Regions from separate parts of the Homo sapiens genome. Here region 1 is linked to region 2. Evidence: promoter capture Hi-C in human tissues and cell types (Jung and others, 2019). All regions are on one chromosome and are shown on one strand. The core of a region is centred on a gene start or on the middle of the fragment in contact, and the rest is flanking DNA. Distances in the headings are between cores, read along the strand shown. Region 1 has its middle 210 kb from the start of MIR8062. Region 2 holds the start of LAMP5 (lysosomal associated membrane protein family member 5).

Region 1 (5,200 bases), core at 1,866-4,365, 1.9 Mb after region 2:
CATTGTAAGTGAGACTATAAACCTTATTTACTTAACTGATGCCAACATTGGTTCCTGTCTTTTAAATTGAAGTTTGTTCTAAGAATCAAATAAAAGAAATATAAATGAGTAAGTCTGGCACATATTTGGCCTTCTTTTTTTCCATCTATATTATGATCTCCATTATTATGAAAATCTCTATTATCAATTGATTGTTTAATCTTTTTTCTTTTTAGACACTTACATTGTCATATATGCAAGTGAGGGTGAAAAAGTGTGCCTATAACTCCAAACCTACTTCATTTCCTATAAGCTTACATATCACACACATATACATCTATGTAGAGACACACATATATATGCACATATATGTATATATACATATGTGTGTCCATAGGTATCTTTTGTTTTATATATATAATTTATTATATACCTATATAAAATTCAAGAGAGTCCTATTGTTAACACTCATTATTTCACATACTGTCCCACCTGATGCAATGGCACTTGCAACAGTGGATTAGTTTGGCAAAATAAAAGCTAATTCAAGTGTATTTTCCTAGTTCCCCTATAGTCTTACTAAGTAAATTTCTCAATTGGTAAGTTAAGATTGTCAAAGCTGTGAAAAGAAACTTGAGATTTATTGTTGCCCATTTTGGTAAATGTGAAGTAATTTTTTACTGCTACTGTCATCAAAATCATGGAAGGTTTTGGAGTGTGTCTGGGATGGAAACTATTCTTACCGTGGGGAAGAAGTACACAGTGTACTTTATGTAAAGTCTATTGCTTCAATTCTCATGCTCTGTCTTCTGCCAGAAAATGAGGTAGTTTGCCATTGAGAGGCTTGAGGAGTGCCTAAATGTGACAAATGATCTGATTTTCAATAAACGTAAACAAAATATGACAATGTCTAATCTAAGCTTTTAGGAGAAGCTTCAGATGAATATACTAGAAAAAATAACCCTAACAATGGTGAAAATTCAAGGGTATTTCAACTACATTCTAAGATTTTTCTTACTCTCTTTGCATTTCAATTCTCTAATGACATCATGGGTAATTTGTATCACATGTACACCAAGAACTATATGAATGTCGGCAATGCCCTCTGGCCAGTATTCAATGGTAAACAATGATGTAATATATATCATAATTTCAGTGTTATTGTCTCATGGAATGAAACACCTGTTTAGTAAAAAAAAGCGAAATAACTGGGCTATTGAATGTTTTGTTTGCTTGTTTTTTCTGAAACAGCTTGGCAGCTTAAGGAAGCGTGCAAATGAAGAAATCACAGAACTTCTTAAGTATTCACCCATATAATTTATATATGAAAAGAGTAATTCTTGAATAACTTTTAAATAACAGCCACAGACTGCAGCAAGACTTCTAGCTGGGTATAGTACCTCCACAATACCAATACATCAGCAAATAATCTTTTGCATACACTTCCTAATTTACATGATCCTTGTTTAATTCCTCTTGCCTGTTAGATTTCTAACTCCAGAGATTTCAACAAGGAAAGTTTGTAGCTAAAAATAGCTCAATAAATTACAGATTTCTGTAGTTGGAAATAGAAAAAAAATGGTTCAGATGTACTTAAATCAATGGGAGGATCAGCAGCAAGCATTTTGCAACACTTCACAAATAAAACAGAAAAATTGGTACTCTTTGTGGCAAATTATTAGTGATGGTCTTGCTCATGAACTTTACTCTTTTGCTAAATTGGGACTCTATGTGGGCGTGCGGGTGACTCGATGTTGCCCAATATTTTACTTGGCTGTTCAGTTCTCTAGTGCCCTGGTTGCAAGAAGATTCTTCCCTGTGACGGAAACAGAGTGCTGCAGATCAATGAAAGCTCCCTTTCTGGTATACTGTAGCTACCACTCCTCTGTTATGTTAAGGATGAATGGAACCTGACACACTGTTTCTCAATCTCAGGAGAGTCATATTGCCACACAGTTGAAAGGTGCAAGGAACGGCTGTGTAGAAGAAAAGAATGGAGTAGCTGTTTAGTCAAATAGCAACTCTTAGGTGACTATTCCTGTTGGGCTCCTAAAAGCTGTTTCTCTCTGGTCTTGTTATTGAATGTGAATGTGGGTCACGGAAGCAATGCCATCTCCCATTCACACAGCTCAAAGCCAAAGTCCAGTTCCTTGTTTGTCTTCCATGTAAACAGGACAAATTGCTTTCTCTGCATGGTGTAATTTCATTGAAACTTTATATTCTGTTAGGTAAAGGACTCTTATTTTTCCTTCCTATTCATTCAGCAAGCACTTCATGTCATTTCAGGCACCATCTGGTAACAAGTAGTATGAGGGGAAATGAACTATGCAATAAATATGGCTTACATTTATTGAGAGCTTCTTATGAGCCAGGCATTTCTGAGCTCTTCACATGTATTAACTCATTTAATATACCCATGAGATAGGTATATTATTATGCTTATTTTACAAATGAGAAAAGTTAGGCAGAGAGGGATTAGCCAGTGGTGGAGCTGAGAGTTGAACCCTGACTCTAACCATAGATGCTACTTTGTTAATTATAGAATGGCAGTTTGCTTTCATTCTAGGGGTTAAGGGTCTATATTCTTACAGCAGCAGGAAACTAATGATTAAAATCTTGTATTTATTGATCTGGCTCTTGCTTATAAGACTACACACTTTGTAACAATTTAATAATCTGTACATTTATGATATGTGCACTTGTAAATATGGCTTCAATGCATAATTTAAAATTGAAAAATAATAATCATGGATGCAAAGCTGTGGCAATGTAGAGCAGCCTGTGTGCGTGAATGCTGGAGGCAAATCTTTAACATGATGGCTGTAAGACCTGTAATCAAGAATGTCTGTGTGCATGGTCCTAATCAGTGTTATCACTGTGAAACCAGACATGCTCGAAAATCTATCCATTAGTATATATGTTTTACTATCAAACCCTTAGTGTCATTCTTTCTAGGAAGAAGCAAAAGAAACTTACATTAACTATTATAGATTAAGAGACTAAATCAAATCATATGATTCAAGTTTAAAAATTTGGTATGAACTTTCACTTAAATCTATACCTCTCTCCAATACTTCTTTGCGCTCTTAAAGTGCCTGTGCTTAGAAGTAGTAAGGCACTTAAGATTTGGCTTTAACCCACAAAACTAGGAGGTAAAATTTCCACAGGGATCAATGATAAGTGTAAGCCTTTTACTCCCAAGAAGAATCTAGTATCAGCATAATCTTTAAAGAAATTATTCTTAGCCTTGGTTTTCCAGAATCTGGTAGAGTAGTGGCCCAGTTCTACTCTCAACCTTGCTATTCTTGGACCAATACTTAACACATTTTCTACCATGAACTTAATAGTAATAACTAATTCTGACAATGATCAACATTTGTTGAAAGTATACTATATACTTGGGCTTAACTAGGTACTTATATCTATTATCTCATTTAATATTTGTGTAAACTCTTGAGGTGAGTATTCATGATAATTAATTTTGTGTGTCAACTTGACTGGGCCATTGTGTGCCCAGATATTTGGTCAAACATTTTTCTCAGTGTGTCTCTGTAGGTGTTTTTGGATAAGACTAACATTTTAATCAGTAGACTGAGTAATGTGATTGGCCTCCTAATGTAAATGGCCTGTATCCACACAGCTGAAGGCTGGAATAGAGCAAAAATCTGACCTGATCATAAATAAGTAGGCATTCCTCTTGCCTGACTGATTGAGCTGGGACAATAGTTTTGTTGTTGTTGTTTGTTTGTTTGTTTTCCTGTCTTCTGACTCAAATTGTAACATCAACTACTCCTGGGTTTCAAGCCTGCAGGCTTTTGAGCTGGAACTTATACCATCAGATCTCCTGGGTTTGAAGCCTGTAGATTGAGACTGAAACTGACACCATTGGTTCTCCTGGTTCTCAGGTCTGTGGATGTGGGCTGAAATGATACTATTGGCTTTCCCAGGTCAACAGCTTGCTGACTGCAGTTCTTGAGACTTCTCAGGCTTCACAATCATGTGAGCCAATTCCTAAATATGTATGTATATATATATTTAGGAATATATATATATGAAGATATATATATATATATATATATAAATCTAATGTATGTGTATGTGTGAGTTTGTGTGTGTACATAATTGCCTATTATTTTATTTCCCTGGAAAAGCCTCATCCAGATTTTGGTACCTAGAATGGTTTTACAGGAACAGAATTTTAGGCATGAGTTTTATGAATTGGTTCTGGAATTCCTGGAAATGGCTCTCTTATCTGATTAGGTTTAAAGGCACTAATAACACTATTTCTAGGAGTTAAGAGAACACAGATAGTCCATGGCCCTGAAATGGCAAAAGGGATAAACAAAATATCACCATTGGTTACTCCTTACCAACCATTTATAAGGATCAAGGACTTGGGGAATTGTGTCTATGATGCTTTTGAACGTTCTTGGCAAACTAATGAATAGTAGGTTGACATGATTCTCCTAATAATGTTGCTGGAAAAAGTGGGAAAAATAAAGAATTAGCTTAGGAATTTGAGTTTCCAGCTTAAATGCTACATAAATGATCTGACAGCTTTTATATCTGCCCCAATGGAGACCTTGGTCTCCTACAGCTGTAGGGTTGAGATGCTGAAAACTAAAATCAGGCCTTCATCTTGAATTACAGTGCAAATAGACCCAGATTTGTAGGATGTGCACTGTTGAAGTGAGGGCACTGATTGGGAAAGAATGACATGGATAGGGAAGGAAAGTTGAAATGGGGCTATGTGGGAAGATCCTCATGAAATTGGGAACATTGAGCCCCTAAATTTTTCTTGCCAGCGGAAGAGACCTCTTCCTCCCCATTGGGAATGTGGCTTCTGCACTCTCATCTAAGGGGATTAACTATGATTGTCTGAGAAAACAACAATGACATCCCCTGAAAAAGTTGCCATAAAAGTAAGTCCTCGCTGTCCTGCTAAGAACCCACACTTTTAGCCTAAGAATGCATTTTGGAAAAAAAATACAATAATTAATATAAAAAGAAAAGGTAAAGAACCCACTGTCTTTGTTTCTGTATCTATACCAGACTTAAGGTCTGGTAGGTCTCTAAAGGCAGGTACAATGTGTTACACACAAAGAGGTATACTACACTCAAAATATCCACTTGGTTTTCTAAATATGTAGAAAGAAATCTGGGGAACATGGGTAGGAATAGATACTAAAGGTATGGGATAATAGTAGAAGAAACAAAGTTG
Region 2 (5,574 bases), core at 1,670-4,169:
CTATGGTGGTGCCACTGCCCTCCACCCTGGTGGACAGAGTGAGACCGCACTTCAAAAAAGAAAAAAAAAATCCCTAATAATGGAGATTCCAAAGACACAGAAGGAACAGTGACTTGGTTTTCCACATTTCACACGGGCCTGGCAAAGAATAAAACATCTTCCTCAACAAAGCCGGACAGATTGCTGGTCCTCTGGATGCTTGTCCTTACACACATACATCCCCTCTGAAGGTCTGCCTCCCATTGCTCTTTTTCTGACCTAAGTTTGATTTTTCCTTTTTCCTTTTTGGTCTAATTTAACTGGGGGACATCTTGCATCTAAACTTTGATGAAAAAGAAAAAATCCTCCTTTTACTGTGATAACAAAAAGGGGTGAAAAGGGAAAGATGACACATGTATTTTTATGTATTCAATAAAAATCCTTTCCCAACTCAGGTGCCTGGGTGATGAAGGGCCTCATTATGAGTGAAATAGACAACTTATAAAGAATAAAATAAATTTAAATGTGGTCTTTGACGGTGTCTGCAGATAGGAATATTGTTATTTGGGGGATGAACGCTCGTTTTGCCGAGGAGGATCTGGCTGAGTTGTCGGAGGGATGGGCCAGAAACGCTAGTAAATTATACATGGTGCAGAATCCACTGTCAGGTAGCTGCAGTCGATGACTGAATATCCCGTGCGAGCCATGCTGCCATGCGCAAAAAGACACTGAAGGCCATCACATCCTGACTGAAAAGGAAAGTCGCACTGCCCCCTTGCAGTTTTAGCGCATAAGAAACAAAACCAGGATGCGGAAGAAAATTAAAATGCAGCTTTGCCCTTCTCCGTGGTCCTTCAAAGGCCAAATCATAAGAGGTCGTTTTGAAGCACCAGGGAACGACAGGCCTTCAAGGGACTTCTTATCTAGGATCAGGCCACGGGTGACGTTTGGGTCCCCACGCCTGCGGTTCCTGGCGGATCTACAAGGCCTGAGACCCAGAAGACTCATGGGCGCTCCCGCCTCTTCCGCCCTAAAGAGCAAGCCGAGGGAAGACTTGGCCTGGGACCTCAAAGCGTGGGACGGTTTCCAAAACCTTGAGGAATTCTCTCTCCAAGCCTGTTCTGCGAGTTCCCAGGCTCCCTCCCCAGCCATGCCAGCCTCCACTCACCACTGACTGCGTCTTTGAAGTGGGTTTTCTCCGAGGAGTCGTAGACAAACTGCACTTTGCTCAGCCTCCAAGTCGCCTCAGGTCCCTTGGACATGTTGTGGCTTTCCTGTTGAGCCGGGGAGGTGCGCTTCAATCGTCCCCGCAGCGTCTGGGTTCTTAAACCTAGGGGCCGCCACTTCCCACACCCACGCGGAGCCTGCGGCCCCTCTGCCCGCTGGGCTCGGAGTTACCTTTACAAAGAGCATTTTGAGTGCATATGCGCGATCCACCCAGAACACTTGCAGCTCCGACTGGCTGTGGCCACAGCGGCCCTTCACCTCAGCTCCCCGGGTCAATGCGATATCGGCCTGTTCTGTGATCAGCTGGGAACACAGACGCCCCGCGCCCCCTCAGCTCGCCCGGCCCCGGGGCGGGGGCTGTAAAGGGCGGCGCGTCCAAACTCTGGGTTGCACGCTTGGGCGCTCCTTTGCGCGCGCGCATCCCAGGTTCCGGGAACATGCGGTTAGATGCTCTACGTGCAGCCCCGATAGGGAAGCGGAGAGAAGGGGGTTTACTTTCAAAGCAGGCAGGGGAACAGAAGGCATTACAAGCTGGAATCCCCATGCAGCATTCGGGAGCAGCCTGCCGGGGTGTGGGAAAGAAGGCGGGCAACCCAGGTCTTCGAAGAGCCTTGAGGAAGGGTGCCCTTCGCCCTGGAGCCCTAGGAGCAAGCTGAGGGGGGGGAAAGATTCCTTACATCTACGTAGTTGCTGGCCCACACATCATAAGGTACAATAAATTTGGCTGCAAACTCTGCCATGAGACACGTCGTCCCATTTTCCCGCACCACAAATATATCTTTTTCAGGGTTAGTGGAAAGGCCTGAGAGATTTTCCACTTCTTGTTCTGCCATGATTTGAGCCATTGTATCTGCGGAACAAACAAAACAATTCCATCAGTTCAGGGCTCAGCCCACGCGTCTCGGGCGCTAGGGTGGGGAGACAGTGCTCTGCAGGCTTTGGAGTGACAAAGTTCTCTGCCAGCAGCTGTGCGCTCTACGAGCCGTTTCTCTAACCCGGGTCTAACAAGCCTCATTCCTTCGCTGTTAATTTATAATGAAAATACAGTTAAAAAAATTAAAAATCCTGACTTTGTTTGTAATATAGCTGGCTGTTTTCTACATCTTGGGATTTTAAAGTAAATATTTCTTGCCAATGCTCTGACCTCACGAAGCTGGCCTGTCTAGGCTCTGTCTGGAATATGCCACAGAGGTGTATGGCTCTCAGGGGAATTCCCTGCCACCGGCGAGGAAGGCCCTCCCTCCTCCCCTAAAAGAAAAAAAGAAAAAACACCGCAAAACATTAAGGGCCATATTTTTTATCTCAAGCTAATTGACTTTACTTTGCCGGCTCTGTTCTCTGCAAAGAGTGCCCGTCCTCTCTCCCAGTCGCCAAATCGCTACTCACGGAACAACATCAGGAGAACTCGAAGTCTGTCGATGCTGGGGACCCCTCTTCCTTGGAGATCCATACTCGCAGTGCCCCGAATGAGGCCGGCTGTGCTGCTGCAGAGGCCGCCAGAGAGGGAATCCCTCAAAGTCGCCGCTGGAGTGGGCCGGGGTGAGCGAGAGGCGGGGGACAGAGAAGGGGGAGGGAGGGAGCGCGTATTCTGTGAGCGCCTAGCTAGGACTCGGTGTCGAGCGCGGCACCGACAGCTGCTGGCAGAGCAAATCGGCTCACTGCGGAGGAAAGGACCGCACGGCGGTCCACGGCTGCGAGTGCTGAAAGCAATCCGATTGTGTGGCAGGAGTGGCTGTGGCTTGGCTTGTGCGGAGGGCCAATGAGATCTGGGGGGACTAAACTTCTCCCTGGGTCTGTTTCCTGTTCTGCAACTGCATCCGCAAAGATGAGTCTGTTCTGAGAAACTTAATACCACCCTCAGCCTTATTAAATCTCCTTACCAGGTACAGTTATTAAGTGGTGTAGATACCTTATCACTGGAGTACTGTCTTCTGAAAACGCATCTGGTTCCCGAAAGAAAACGGTGGAGCAAAAATTGTTGCTGATTCGGGGGAGGAGGGCTATGCAGGAATAGAGAAGGGAAAATGCTATGGCAACAGTTTCCTGAATTTGGAGACATCCCCTTCTCTCCCCTGCTCTCAATGAGCTCATGGGTTTAAAGTTAAATTGACGCCTCCTCGAACGAGGCCATCAGACAATGCAGTAGCTCCATGTGGGCTTATTTTCCTGTGAATTTTGCTCCCGGGTGCATGAGGACTCTGAACTCTGGGGTCACCTACCCTCCCGCATTATACTGTGACCACTCTGCCAAAAAGGGATGCAAGCAAATCAGAAGTTTTTGAGAGTTATCTAGTGTCTCCTAGGACAGAAATTTTAGAATTATGCCCTAAGTAATGTCACATAGTTATGTAAGAAAAACACACACTGATATTACTCTAAAGCCTGTAGTGGAACAGAAGAACAAATACTACTGGGCTAATTCCTGTATTTACATATTTGGTAGCTTGCTTATTTTTTATTTTTGCTCTGTAAATCAGAATACAGCTTTCAAAAATACACATGCAGTCCTCATCAATTGTAGTGATGTCCAAATATTTTATTCCTTAGAAGATATTTCATAATGCAAATAAATGTTGCATCAGTAATATAATGTTATAAAACAATGTCATATTAAAGGGAAAATTGCAAAGTATTTCACCTGCATTATCTAATTTGATTCTCCCCAATCTTAGAGGGTAGGCAAGGAAAGATATGAGTTACTGTGGTTTTACATACCCCAAAACTGAGGCTCAAATAAATTAAATGACCTTCCCAAATGTCACATGGTCAGTTAGAATTAAAATACAAAAATCACATGCTTTAACTCTGTGAGATTATCTTCATTTCTCCTTATATAATATTTTTACTCCATATTTTGACTTCCATAAAAATCTATATTCAATATCAAATAATAATCTGAAATCTGAAATCTCTATCATTAATTCACATTCTTCAAATTTATAGAATGCTGTTTTAAGTATAATCACATTCTGACATATCTGCCACAAAGTATCTATATAATGTTTTTGGCTTTCAAACATATTCCTATATCAATCATTAGATCACTAGCAATTCAAAGTATAAAGTAATATTAAAATTGACATTATATTTTGACATCTTGACTTTTATGTTTGTAGTTCAGTATTTCATCCAAACATTTCTCAAGAACTTTACAAAGATGATTATATATAGAAGAATTGATGCAAATTTTACAGAACTTAACAGAAATGATTTTATACAGAAGATTGATAAAACGTCAGTTCTCATCAGTTGAAAGTGGAAGAGATAACATTTGTATGTGTTACATTTTTTCATGTTAGCAATTATTATTAAACACTTATTTTCCTGTAGTACTGTAAAACTGGAAAACAATGAGACATGTAATAAAGTATTTATTCTCTCTCTCTCTCTCTCTCTCCAGTATTTTATGAGGACAGAAATGAGTAGATTTCAGTCCAGGATTCACTACTTATTATTTTTGTGACCTTCTGAAGATTTTATTTGTTCTCATCTGAAAAATTGGGAAAATAACTCAGGGGATGGCTAGTTAAACCAAATGGGCCAATGAGTATAAATAAACAAAGTACAAATAGATCCATAAACATTAACCGAATACTTACTACTTCCAGTATGCTTGATGCTTTGAAAACCAAAAGATATTTATCATTACACAAGTAGGAGAGACACCTATAAAAGATTTTGACAATTTCTCTTGCAGTATGTTATTGCAGATATCTTCACTATATAAGTTGTTAAAAGATCAACTGAATTAATTCATGATTATCTGCCTTAATAATAAAAGATTAGGTGAGTAGTAGCATTGGTCATTGATCTTAAAATGTAGTAGTTGATTTACAAATGAGATGGTTGTTCCTTTGAAAATTATACCTGATATAAATGATCTCTTTGTTGACACTGGAGAGTGTACCCTAGAGTACTCAAATGGGTTGAAAGAAGAAAGAAAGCAATTTTAACTCTTTTTTTCTGGGGGGATTATTTTCAAAGCACAATCAGTTTAATGACTTTTTTAATATTTAATCTTAAACATGGCTAACAAATGCCCATTAATTTATCATCTTATCCACTGTGATACATTGCAATAGGAGTTAGGTCATTATACCTACAACTTTCACCTACATTAATTAAATATCTTTCTAATCATTCTGGAAAAAAACTCTTTGGTTCTCTAAAATAAGCAAAGAAGTGATCAAGGAGCAAAATTTGCCATTAAATTGCATTTTAATATATTAACAATGTTCCCCAGAATTTGCTCTACTTTTCATTTCTCAAGTCTAAAAGATGGTAGGAGAAATTGACATAAATATGTACACCTGTGTGGGTGGTAACTGTGTCAATTTTTATTATTGCTGCTGGTGGTCAGTAGAAACT

What was found. The method cuts DNA at HindIII sites, captures the fragments that hold promoters and counts their contacts. A contact is called where the count stands out against the background at its distance.
Region 1: a fragment that was not itself captured here is called in contact with the fragment with the promoter of LAMP5 in region 2 in 1 of the 25 tissues and cell types used here (dorsolateral prefrontal cortex).

Annotation. Positions count from the first base shown.
Region 1 is chr20:7,582,139-7,587,338 of GRCh38, reverse strand. No RefSeq gene overlaps it. Among named protein-coding and RNA genes, the nearest start is that of MIR8062, 210 kb to the right of the region's middle. RefSeq lists an enhancer at 1,963-2,257. The HindIII fragment of the contact is 4,418 bases long and covers 907-5,200 here.
Region 2 is chr20:9,511,935-9,517,508 of GRCh38, reverse strand. LAMP5 (lysosomal associated membrane protein family member 5) reads right to left here and starts at 2,919. Exons shown (of 6, transcript NM_012261.4): 1 at 2,593-2,919; 2 at 1,884-2,056; 3 at 1,378-1,509; 4 at 1,148-1,253. The coding sequence starts at 2,656. It overlaps LAMP5-AS1 (LAMP5 antisense RNA 1), which reads left to right and starts at 2,511. Exons shown (of 5, transcript NR_109957.1): 1 at 2,511-2,745. RefSeq lists an enhancer at 1,400-1,984. The HindIII fragment of the contact is 16,129 bases long and covers 1-5,574 here.